2 separate regions of the Homo sapiens genome follow, and region 1 is linked to region 2. Evidence: promoter capture Hi-C in 16 types of primary human blood cells and fetal thymus (Javierre and others, 2016). All regions are on one chromosome and are shown on one strand. The core of a region is centred on a gene start or on the middle of the fragment in contact, and the rest is flanking DNA. Distances in the headings are between cores, read along the strand shown. Region 1 overlaps SPEN (spen family transcriptional repressor). Region 2 holds the start of RSC1A1 (regulator of solute carriers 1).

What was found. Contacts are between HindIII fragments. The CHiCAGO score rates a contact against its expected background, and 5 or more counts as called.
Region 1: a fragment that was not itself captured here is called in contact with the fragment with the promoter of RSC1A1 in region 2 in 1 of 17 cell types (naive B cells); the score reaches 5.3 in naive B cells.

The regions. Positions count from the first base shown.
Region 1 is chr1:15,926,655-15,931,067 of GRCh38, reverse strand. SPEN (spen family transcriptional repressor) reads right to left here. Exons shown (of 15, transcript NM_015001.3): 11 at 1-2,977. Among named protein-coding and RNA genes, the nearest start is that of ZBTB17, 47 kb to the left of the region's middle. The HindIII fragment of the contact is 1,630 bases long and covers 494-2,123 here.
Region 2 is chr1:15,656,731-15,661,617 of GRCh38, reverse strand. RSC1A1 (regulator of solute carriers 1) reads right to left here and starts at 1,905. Exons shown (of 1, transcript NM_006511.3): 1 at 1-1,905. The coding sequence starts at 1,749. DDI2 (DDI proteasomal shuttling factor 2) reads right to left here. Exons shown (of 10, transcript NM_032341.5): 10 at 1-1,781. The HindIII fragment of the contact is 1,265 bases long and covers 1,205-2,469 here.

The DNA.
Region 1 (4,413 bases), core at 59-2,558, 270 kb before region 2:
TTTCTCAACCTCTTTGGGTTTCTGGTCTTTTTCTTTTTCTTTCTGTTGCATCCGTGTGAGCTCCATAAATCTGCTATGGAACAGAACTACTGGTTCTTGAATGGAATCAGTTGTGCTGTTTGCTCCCTCAGATGTCTGCTTCCCATAGATCCTACCAGAAATGAAGTCAGAATCTTCCTCTTTTCTCTCTAGATGCTGCAATCGCTTGGAATCTTGTTCAAAGATTGAGCTGTGTAAAAAACGAGAAGCAAACAATTCCTGCCTCTCTTGCTCTTCTTCTTTATGGTCCTCTTTCTTATCATCCATTTTCCCTTCTGAATCAGTCCTAATTTTCTTCTTTTTCATGTACCAGGATGGAATAGGTCTTGGAGCAGAGTCAACCTTTTCTTTATCTTTGTTGTTTCGAAAATTTGCAAATCGGGAGTCCCAATCAAGAAAAGACCAATTTTCTTCACGAGATGAAGAGAGGGATTTAGCTCTTTCAAGCAAAGCTTTAGTGTCTGGTGTGATTGTCTTATCCAATGCAAAAGAGTAAAATTTGTTCCTTTCTAAAGAACTAGAGAGTCTTTCATCTCGCTCACGTAGCTTGTCTTCTCTGTCCCTCAATAAAAAAGACAATCGAGAACTTTCATATAATGCAGAGGCTCTGGGTGAGTGGGATTTGTGTTCACCATCTTCGTCAGAATCAGAAGGCACCTCACCAGGTTCCAGATCTCGTACAGACCTTTTTCGAAGGCTATCTCTCTTAATTATGCTGTTTGGGAAACTCACATCAAATCTGCCAGCATCCTGTTTCATCTGAGAGTCCCAACGATTTAGTTCATCTTCAGAATTCAAGACAGATAGTTTTATTTTGGCCATATCTGCCATCTGTTCTCTCCTGCTAGAATCATAAGGATTAAATTTTAAAGACTCTTCCCTGACTGTTATGTTAGAATAGGGGAGGACTTTTTCATCTACTTTAGGAGACCCTTTTACTGACAGTAGCCTAGGGGAGCCTATGGGATCCTCATCTTCATGGAAGGAACCATGTCGGACACTGGGAGAACCACCAGTCCTTTCAGAATCTTCGCTGATTTGGCGTGAACTTCTGTAATTCCGTTCTCGCTTGGTGCAGATATCAAAATCGACATGATCCATCCTTTTCTTTTTGCTAGGAGGAGAGTCATCAGTGACATCTTGAGGGGGTTTGCCTACCTCGTGAACGAGGCTACGTCTTTCATATTCATCTACATCTTTTTTAGGACTGCCAAACTTCTCAGACTTGGCTATTTCCATTTCCATCTGCTGTTTCCTACGACTCTGTTCCATTTGTTTTCGGTAACTCTGCGTGTGATCGATGTCAATGCCAATTTTTTCTTCAGTATTTACTGAATGTGATTTCTCTTGGCCTGATTTACGTTCAGGTGTTTCATCACGAAGACTGCAATAGTTTTTCCTAACGTCTTCTCTCTCTGGTCCTTGATCATCTAATACCTGCAGCTGTTTGAGCTGTGGTTTTGAGGGAATGGGCTTTTTTGATTGGACTTCTTGATTTTCCACAGATTCACCTGCTAGTTCTCCCAGTCTTGCTTGTAGGTCTGAGCTGGGCCTTGAGCCAGACCCAACAGAAATACTGGCAAGCTCCTGACAGTCTTTGGGGCTGGCAACAGTATTAAGTCTGTCCAGTTTGATTTTTTTAGATTCTCTTTTAAGAATTTCTTTCCTCACAGGCTTTCTTTCAGCCTCTCCTTCCCTCAGCAGAATGACCTCTCTAGAGGACACGTCAGGCTGCTTTTTTGAAAGCACGCGAGCATCCTCCATCTCTGGACTGCTTTTCTTGACCTCTGGTTTTTGCTTTTCTGCTTTTAAATTGGAATCTGCAAAGCGCCTTTTCCTGGCTTCCAGCTTCTCCAGATCCACAGCACTTACCCCATCTGCAGGCTGCTCAGGCTTGAGGTGCTTCCTGGCTTTAAGCCTGCCTTCCTTCTCCACCACTTCAACATGGCTTGAAAGCCCCTTTTCCTTTGGTACTTTCATTCTAACTGATTCCAGTTTAGACAAGTCAGATTTTGCAGGCTCCGTCTGAGAGACCTGAAGTTTCTGGTCCAGGGCAGAAGATTTGACAGTGTCATTATCAAGCTTGGCTTTCAACTTTTCCACAGGAGTGTGGTCAATGACCTTTCCCTCTTTCTCTTTCACTCGAGTCAAAACCACGCAAGGCATGAGTTCCAGGCGGTTTTTCGCTATTCCCTCTTTGTCAGCTTTCTCTCTGCTCAGTTTATTACAACTCCTGGGCTTTTCAGGGCTTTGCTCTCGCTCATTTTCTTGGTCCGTTTCTGAAGACTGAGAACTAGGGGAGTGAACCTTTCCTTTGCGTTTCTGCTTGTCAGTTTTGTCCTTTTCCACTTTTTCCTTCCGTATTAAGCGTCTCTCTCTCTCCACTCTCTCCGGATCAAAAGTTCGTTCTTTATCTGTCTTTTCATTTTTTGTATAGCGCTCCAAACGAGACTTGTCCAGTTTCTCATATCTTGGAGGGGAGAGTGAGCTACAGCTTCCACTCCGGTCTGAGGATCGGCTGTAAAGCCTCCTCTCAGAATCACTCGGCAACCTCTCTGCCTGAGAGGGAGACGCTCCAGGACTCTGTGGACGTCGCAAGTGAACAGGACTTTGACTTCGTTCAATCGGCCTCCTCTCATGGTCTCTGTCCCGGTCAGACTCAAATCTTTCACGTTCTCTTTCTCGTTCCCTTTGCCTGTAACTATATTCCCTAATATCTTGTTCATAAGGATCATTCCTGTAATCCCTGTATTCCCGAGGATCATCGTAGTATCGTGATTCATAGTAGTCTCCTTGGTAAGTTTCCCATTCTGAATAAAACTCTCTCCCTCGAGCTGGATAGTCCCGCCTGGAATCCTCAGGATAAGTGCCTGGAGTTCGAACACTCTCATAATATGTACGATCTTGGTTATAGTCGTAGGATGCCCTTCGTTCCTCTCTGCCAAAAAATAACAAAGATATTAGTTCTTTTGTTTCCTCATCACTTATGCATAAAATCATACATATGAAATCAGAAATTCCTGCTTCTAAAAAATCTTTTGACATTATTTAATCATTTGTGAAATGATTAGTTTGTAGTAGCTATCCACTATAGCTTCAAGTAGCTACTAGGCACTTGAAATCTAGCTAAATTGAGATGTGTAAAATACACAGCCAATTTTGTAGACCTAGTTTATAGAAAAACAACAATTTAGACTGATTATATGTTGAAACAACGTTTTAGATATATTAAAGAAAATTTCACTTTGTCTTTTTAATGTGGCTACTAGAAAATTTAAAATTACATATACAGAATTTATATAACTTACATTATGCTTCTATTGGGCAGTGGTGATTCAACCCTTTTTTAATGTTTCTGGTAACTCCGGCGTTGTGACAAAGCAGACACTAGTTACTGGACAATATCCCCACACTCCTACCTAAGTCTCCCACAAAATTACTATTCTATAAAAAGATATTCTTACAACTTGGGAAATAAATCCACTGTTTAGAAAAACAGATAAAAATTTTAACTAAAATTTTGCCATCTATATGACCTGTATGATACTGGTAACACTTCTATCTAATTCACAATTTTTAAAAAATACTGGAACCTGGTTAAACTCTCTGAACTCAGTCTCCTCACTCATAAAATGGCAGCTTTTCCTCATAAAGCTGTTAAAAAGATTAAGATAATATCTGTAAAAACTTTCCTACATAATCCTAGGCAGGTACTTGGCCTCAGTAAATGTTGTCACTTTCCCCCAGGCTGCCAACTAACAAACCAGGGATGACTGCAAGCACCATGAGAGAACTCCTCCAGTTTTAAGGAACTCACCACAGGTTTTCTCCCACAGGGACCTGTCTGGTGCATTCAAAATAGGATTAAATTTACACACAAGAACATATATTATATGAAATTAAATACACCTGTAACAGAGACCAATTACTTCCTTCACTCATTCATTCTCCGCAATGTTTGTTCTCTCATGTAGATACACCTGGCTCATTCTAGGTAACACTGCCATTAGTAGCTCGCTGAAAGAACACTAGAACTTGGCCGGACACGGTGGCTCATGCCTGTAATCCCAGCACTTTGGGAGGCCAAGGCAGGCGGATCACGAGGTTAGGAGATCAAGACCATCCTGGCTAACATGGTGAAACCCCATCTCTACTAAAAATAGAAAAAATTAGGCGGGCATGGTGGCAGGCGCCTGTAGTCCCAGGTACTCGGGAGGCTGAGGAAGGAGAATGGCATGAACCTGGGAGGCGGAGCTTGCAGTGAGTCAAGATTGTGCCGCTGCACTCCAGCTTGGGCGACACAGCGAGACTCCATCTCAAAAAAAAAAAAAAAAGAACACTAGAACTTAAGCCCCATAAAGGCACAGGCTTTGT
Region 2 (4,887 bases), core at 656-3,155:
AGCACGGAGAATGCGGTCAATATCTGTGGCAGGAAAAATCAATGGTGGAAGAATGGCAGGACTTGATGATGGATGGCTGGTAGGTGGTTCATATTCAAGTAATGGCCTCGAAGCATCAGGACAGACATTTTCTCTGGTTTCAGGCCTGTCTGTTACTGAATTCTGTATGCCCTGACCTAAGTCTTTAACCAATATGAAATTGGATGACAAAGACTTAGTTTGCTCAGAAGTCTGATTGAGTGCATCCTCCTCACCTGCTAAAAGTTTGGGTGAAATTTCTACACCTAAGGTGCAGTGTAACTGATTGGATGTTTTAGCTGAGGTTACAGTGACAGAACGGTTCTTATTTATGGATTCCCTAGATTTGGGGACACCTTCCTTATCGGTTGACAGGCCATCACCTAGACTCCTGAAGTTTACATTTTCTACAGCTTCTCTTCCAGTGTCAGATGAAGTACCTGTTAATTTTTCTGTCTCCACTGATACAGATATGGCCTGATGAAAGGAGACTTGTGGACACTGTTCATTCTGGGTAAGATGCTCATTTTGGGTCCATCTTTCAGAAAGGTCTTTAATACTGGTTTGGCCCTCAGCTATGGTTTCTGATTGACAGATTACTTCTTCAGATGTATTTTCTGAAGCTGGTTTACTGCTAACAACCAAAAGTTCATGAAGTTCTTTCAAGGCTGCCGTTATAGACGGGCAAGATTCTTCTGCTGACTCCACAGAAGGCTGACAACTGCCACAGAGACTTGGAGAGGAGTAATGGCCATATTCTTTATTTGTTCCAGGTATTTCAACATTAGTTTCTGGGGGCTGTAAATCCTGAGTGGAAATGGAATCATTCAAAATTTCAGATGAAGGGTTACATTTTGATGTTTCTACTTCCATCAAGGGATTATCTAAAGTGAGATCCAATGCACCAATGTTCTTGACATTGGCATTCTGCCTGCCTGTTGAATTAAGCAAAGTAACTAGGGACTGTTGAGCTGTATCGATTTCCATAAATGTTTCTGAATTTGAGCAGCCACTGCATTCTGAAGATGGAATACTTTTCTTCGCACTTGGAGGATCCACATTCTGTGGGAGCCCATTTCCTTTCATCGTAGCTTCCAAATCAACAATTTTGTGTTGATTCTGTTGCCTTTCTTCAGGAAGCTCAAGGTCCCCTATGTTACAAAGATATTCTTGGTCATGTGAAGCTTTTTGTTGTGCAACCTCATACTGTTCATTCCCTGGTTCTTCGTGCTGCTGAGGGTCACTCACTTGACTCAGGTTCTGATTTTCTGGATGCCAATCCTTTTCACCTAGAAACATCTGTGGTTCATGCATCCTAGTAGATGTGACAGATAAACTAGCTTCCTGTCTTGTATGGAGATGAAATTTGAGGCCCTGGGTGCTTCTTTCAGCAGATTTCTCCAGATTACCTGCAACAGTTATTTCTTCGGATGAATTCTGCATAGGCATAGCTGGACTCTGGTCTGTTGGAGCATGGTCTGCTGAGGAAGCATGATCAGAAAGATCTTGTAAAGAAAGATGTTCTTTCTTTTCAGAGTTTAGCTGGAATTCAGCTGAAGCCTTCAAAGCCTTCACAGCTTTAGGTTCAATGCGATCTGAGTCACTGGGCTTGATAGGGCAGACTGAAGCAGAGACAGAGCGAGCAAGACTCATAGGATTACCAACATCAGGACTCTGTCCTGAAGAACGGGCGGGATGGTTAAACCCATCTGAAGTTGGTAATGATGACATTCCCAGTGAGGTAGATTCTTTACCACTTTTCTCTATATGGAACACAGGGGAAAGGAAAAAGATTAATTAGCAGGTGACTAATGCCACTAAATTACCAGAGGATACAAATCTAAACAGCGTAGAATAAAATAAGGTCCTCAAACTCGGGTTTCTCTTACACAAATAGAAATGATTTTAAAATTACTTTCTCATTGTGGTAGACATTCACAGCATCAGAATAAGAGGTAGACATGTTCTTAATAAAATCTGCATACTGTAATTCAATGTGATTAAGTATCCATTAATATGCATTCACATAATGGCGGGGTTAGTGCTCAGGAATGAAGGACATTTATGTTTCTTTATTCCCTAGTCTAGTCTACAACTCTAGAATAGTTTCTCCAAGTGTACTTTTTTCACCACTTGCCCTAAAACCACCAGGGACGCTTGTGAAGTATGCAGACCCTGGGGTACCATACTTGAGAGTAAATCCAGGAATGTGCATTTTCAATAAGCTCCTTGGGTGATTCTTAAGGATATTACAAATCCTGAGAATCTTTGCACCAGAATGATTCTCATGTTAATGCACTTTTCTTGTTTCAAATGTGAACACTGAGGTTACAAATGAGAAGTCTTAAACCAGGTATACCTGGACAGAGAGGGAATTATAAAGAGAAATAAGAAATAACATAATGCTTGGGGACAGAGAAGCAAATGTTCTATTTTATTTCTAGCCAAGCTTTCCAAAAATCATGGTAAAACTGGGTGAGCATCTGACTCAGAAAACAAAAGTAAACTAATGATCAGCAGATTAAATCACAATCATCATCCTACCAAATAATACAACTCTAAACTTAAAAGGCTTATAAGTTTTTATCACATCAATAGTGTGCAACTAAGTTAAGAATATTTAAATGTTTTAAAGAAAGGGGAATGTGGAGGGAGATGGTTCATTAATAGTTTTTCAACTGGCAATGACTATTTAGATTCACTGCTACCTTAGACCACCCAAACAAGACGGCTCAGTGTAAGCATCATAGTATCATTAAACATCATTTCCAGCTCTTCTTTTGCCACCAATCCAGTTAAAAATTGACCTCTACGCATGTAAGTGTAAGAATTTTTTTTTTTTTTTAAGACTGTGTTTTGCTCTTGTTGCCCAGACAGGAGTACAATGGCGCCATCTGAGCTCACCGCAACCTCCGCCTCCCGGGTCCAAGCGATTCTCCTGCCTCAGAGTAGCTGGGATTACATGCATGCGCCACACACCCGACTAATTTTGCATTTTTAGTAGAGATGAGGTTTCTCCACGTTGGTCAGGGTGGTCTCAAACTCTTGACCTCAGGTGATCCGCCCGCCTCAGCCTCCCAAAGTGCTTGGATTACAGGCAAGAGCCACCGCACCCGACCATTGTAAGATCTTTAATTAAAAATCAAAAAGGGCTGGGCACAGTGGCTCATGCCTGTAATCCCAGCACTTTGGGAGGCCGAGGCAGGTGGATCACCTGAGGTCAGGAGTTCGAGACCAGCCTGGCCAACGTGGTGAAACCTCATCTCTACTAAAAATACAAAAATTAGCCAGGCGTGGTGGTGGGTGCCTGTAATCCCAGCTACTAGGTAGGCTGAGGTGGGAGAATTGCTTGAACCCAGGAGGGAGAGGTTGCAGTGAGCCAAGACTGCACCACTGCACTCCAGCCTGGGTGACAGAGTGAAACTCAGTCAAAATAAAAAATAATAATAATAAAAAATAAAAATCAAAAGGTCAGTAACAAAAATGACTTCAAAATACAATCTATTATTAGGACAGATGCAACTCAAATGCTCAGTACTAAATGTTAACATCCAACAAGAGGGCTTGATCTTAAAAAGCAGCAAAGCAGTTATATTCAAAAGGCTTTAAATCATTCTAATAAACTACTGGTTAACAGCATGAGAAGACAAAGCATTGTTTCAGGAAGCTATTGACTTCCCATGAAACAATCTTACCTTACTTACACTTTAGGAGTAAAAAGGAAAACTGCACTTATCTCAGTTTAGGCTATACCCATTAGAGTCTAGAAACACAGTTATTAGTTTTTTTATTTTCATACCACCAGATGTCTAACAGTTATTAGTTTTATTTAAAACTAAGGCTGACTCTGGAAGAGGTTGAATTTTGAACTAATGTTAACAGAAACAATGCACTGTAGTGAAATATCCATGTAAGCAACATAAAGAGGTATGGTAAGGGCCTTCTGGTATTTGTGTGTTAGTTATAAACAAGTGAGGTCAAGGTGAACACACCCTCAATGAATTTTGTACTAAAAAAGTAGCATATAGTCCTCTTGTAGCTGAGAAGGTCAGTTTCACTAGCCTAAGTCCTAAACGTAGGGGAGGACTAGGTCAGTTTACAGAATGACAGGAGAAGAGGATGAGGACAGTGGATATTAAGAATAATTCAACTATGCCTGCTTTTAACCTATCCTTACAAGGAAAAGAAAAAGGAAAGAAAGAAGAGAAACTAAATGCTATGTATCTAATTCCAACCAGCTTGCAAACTCCTACAAAGTCTTATGATGCTGGTTTAAAAGACCATCTTTCCTCCTCTTAGTAAGTCAGCCAATGTATTCGAGCTGATGTTTACCATTATTTACATCAGAGGAAATGGAAGCAGAGTGCTTCCTGAAAATCTGTCAGGCCAGAGACAGAAGGAAAAGCAAAGTCTTAGTTCCTGTTGTTCAGAGTCACCCCTGACAAGTCCTCTGGCCTAAGTTTCCATTTCTTCTTCAACAAAATTAAAATTTCTAACCCTCTATAACTCCAGGTAGTTGTATGCAGTAATGTAAAAGAACAGCTTTCAGTTTTTCAGAGGAAAGGCACTTATGAAACCCATGAAAGCATAGTTATCTCCAACAACAAAGTGTTGTGAGGCCAATATTCTTGATGTGATATTTATAGTAGCCAAGATGGGGTAGATATAATAGACACTGTTTTAACTGGGATTTTCTCCCTGTTGGATGGTTCTAATAACGAATCCATTTTTAAACAGGAGTTTATGTTACATATCCATGTATGCATGCCAAAATACAAATGCATATAGGCTAGTTGTAACCAGATTGAACAAGGTGAAATGGTGAATGACAAATGCTAACTTCCCAAACTGCTGCGGATACAGACTGTC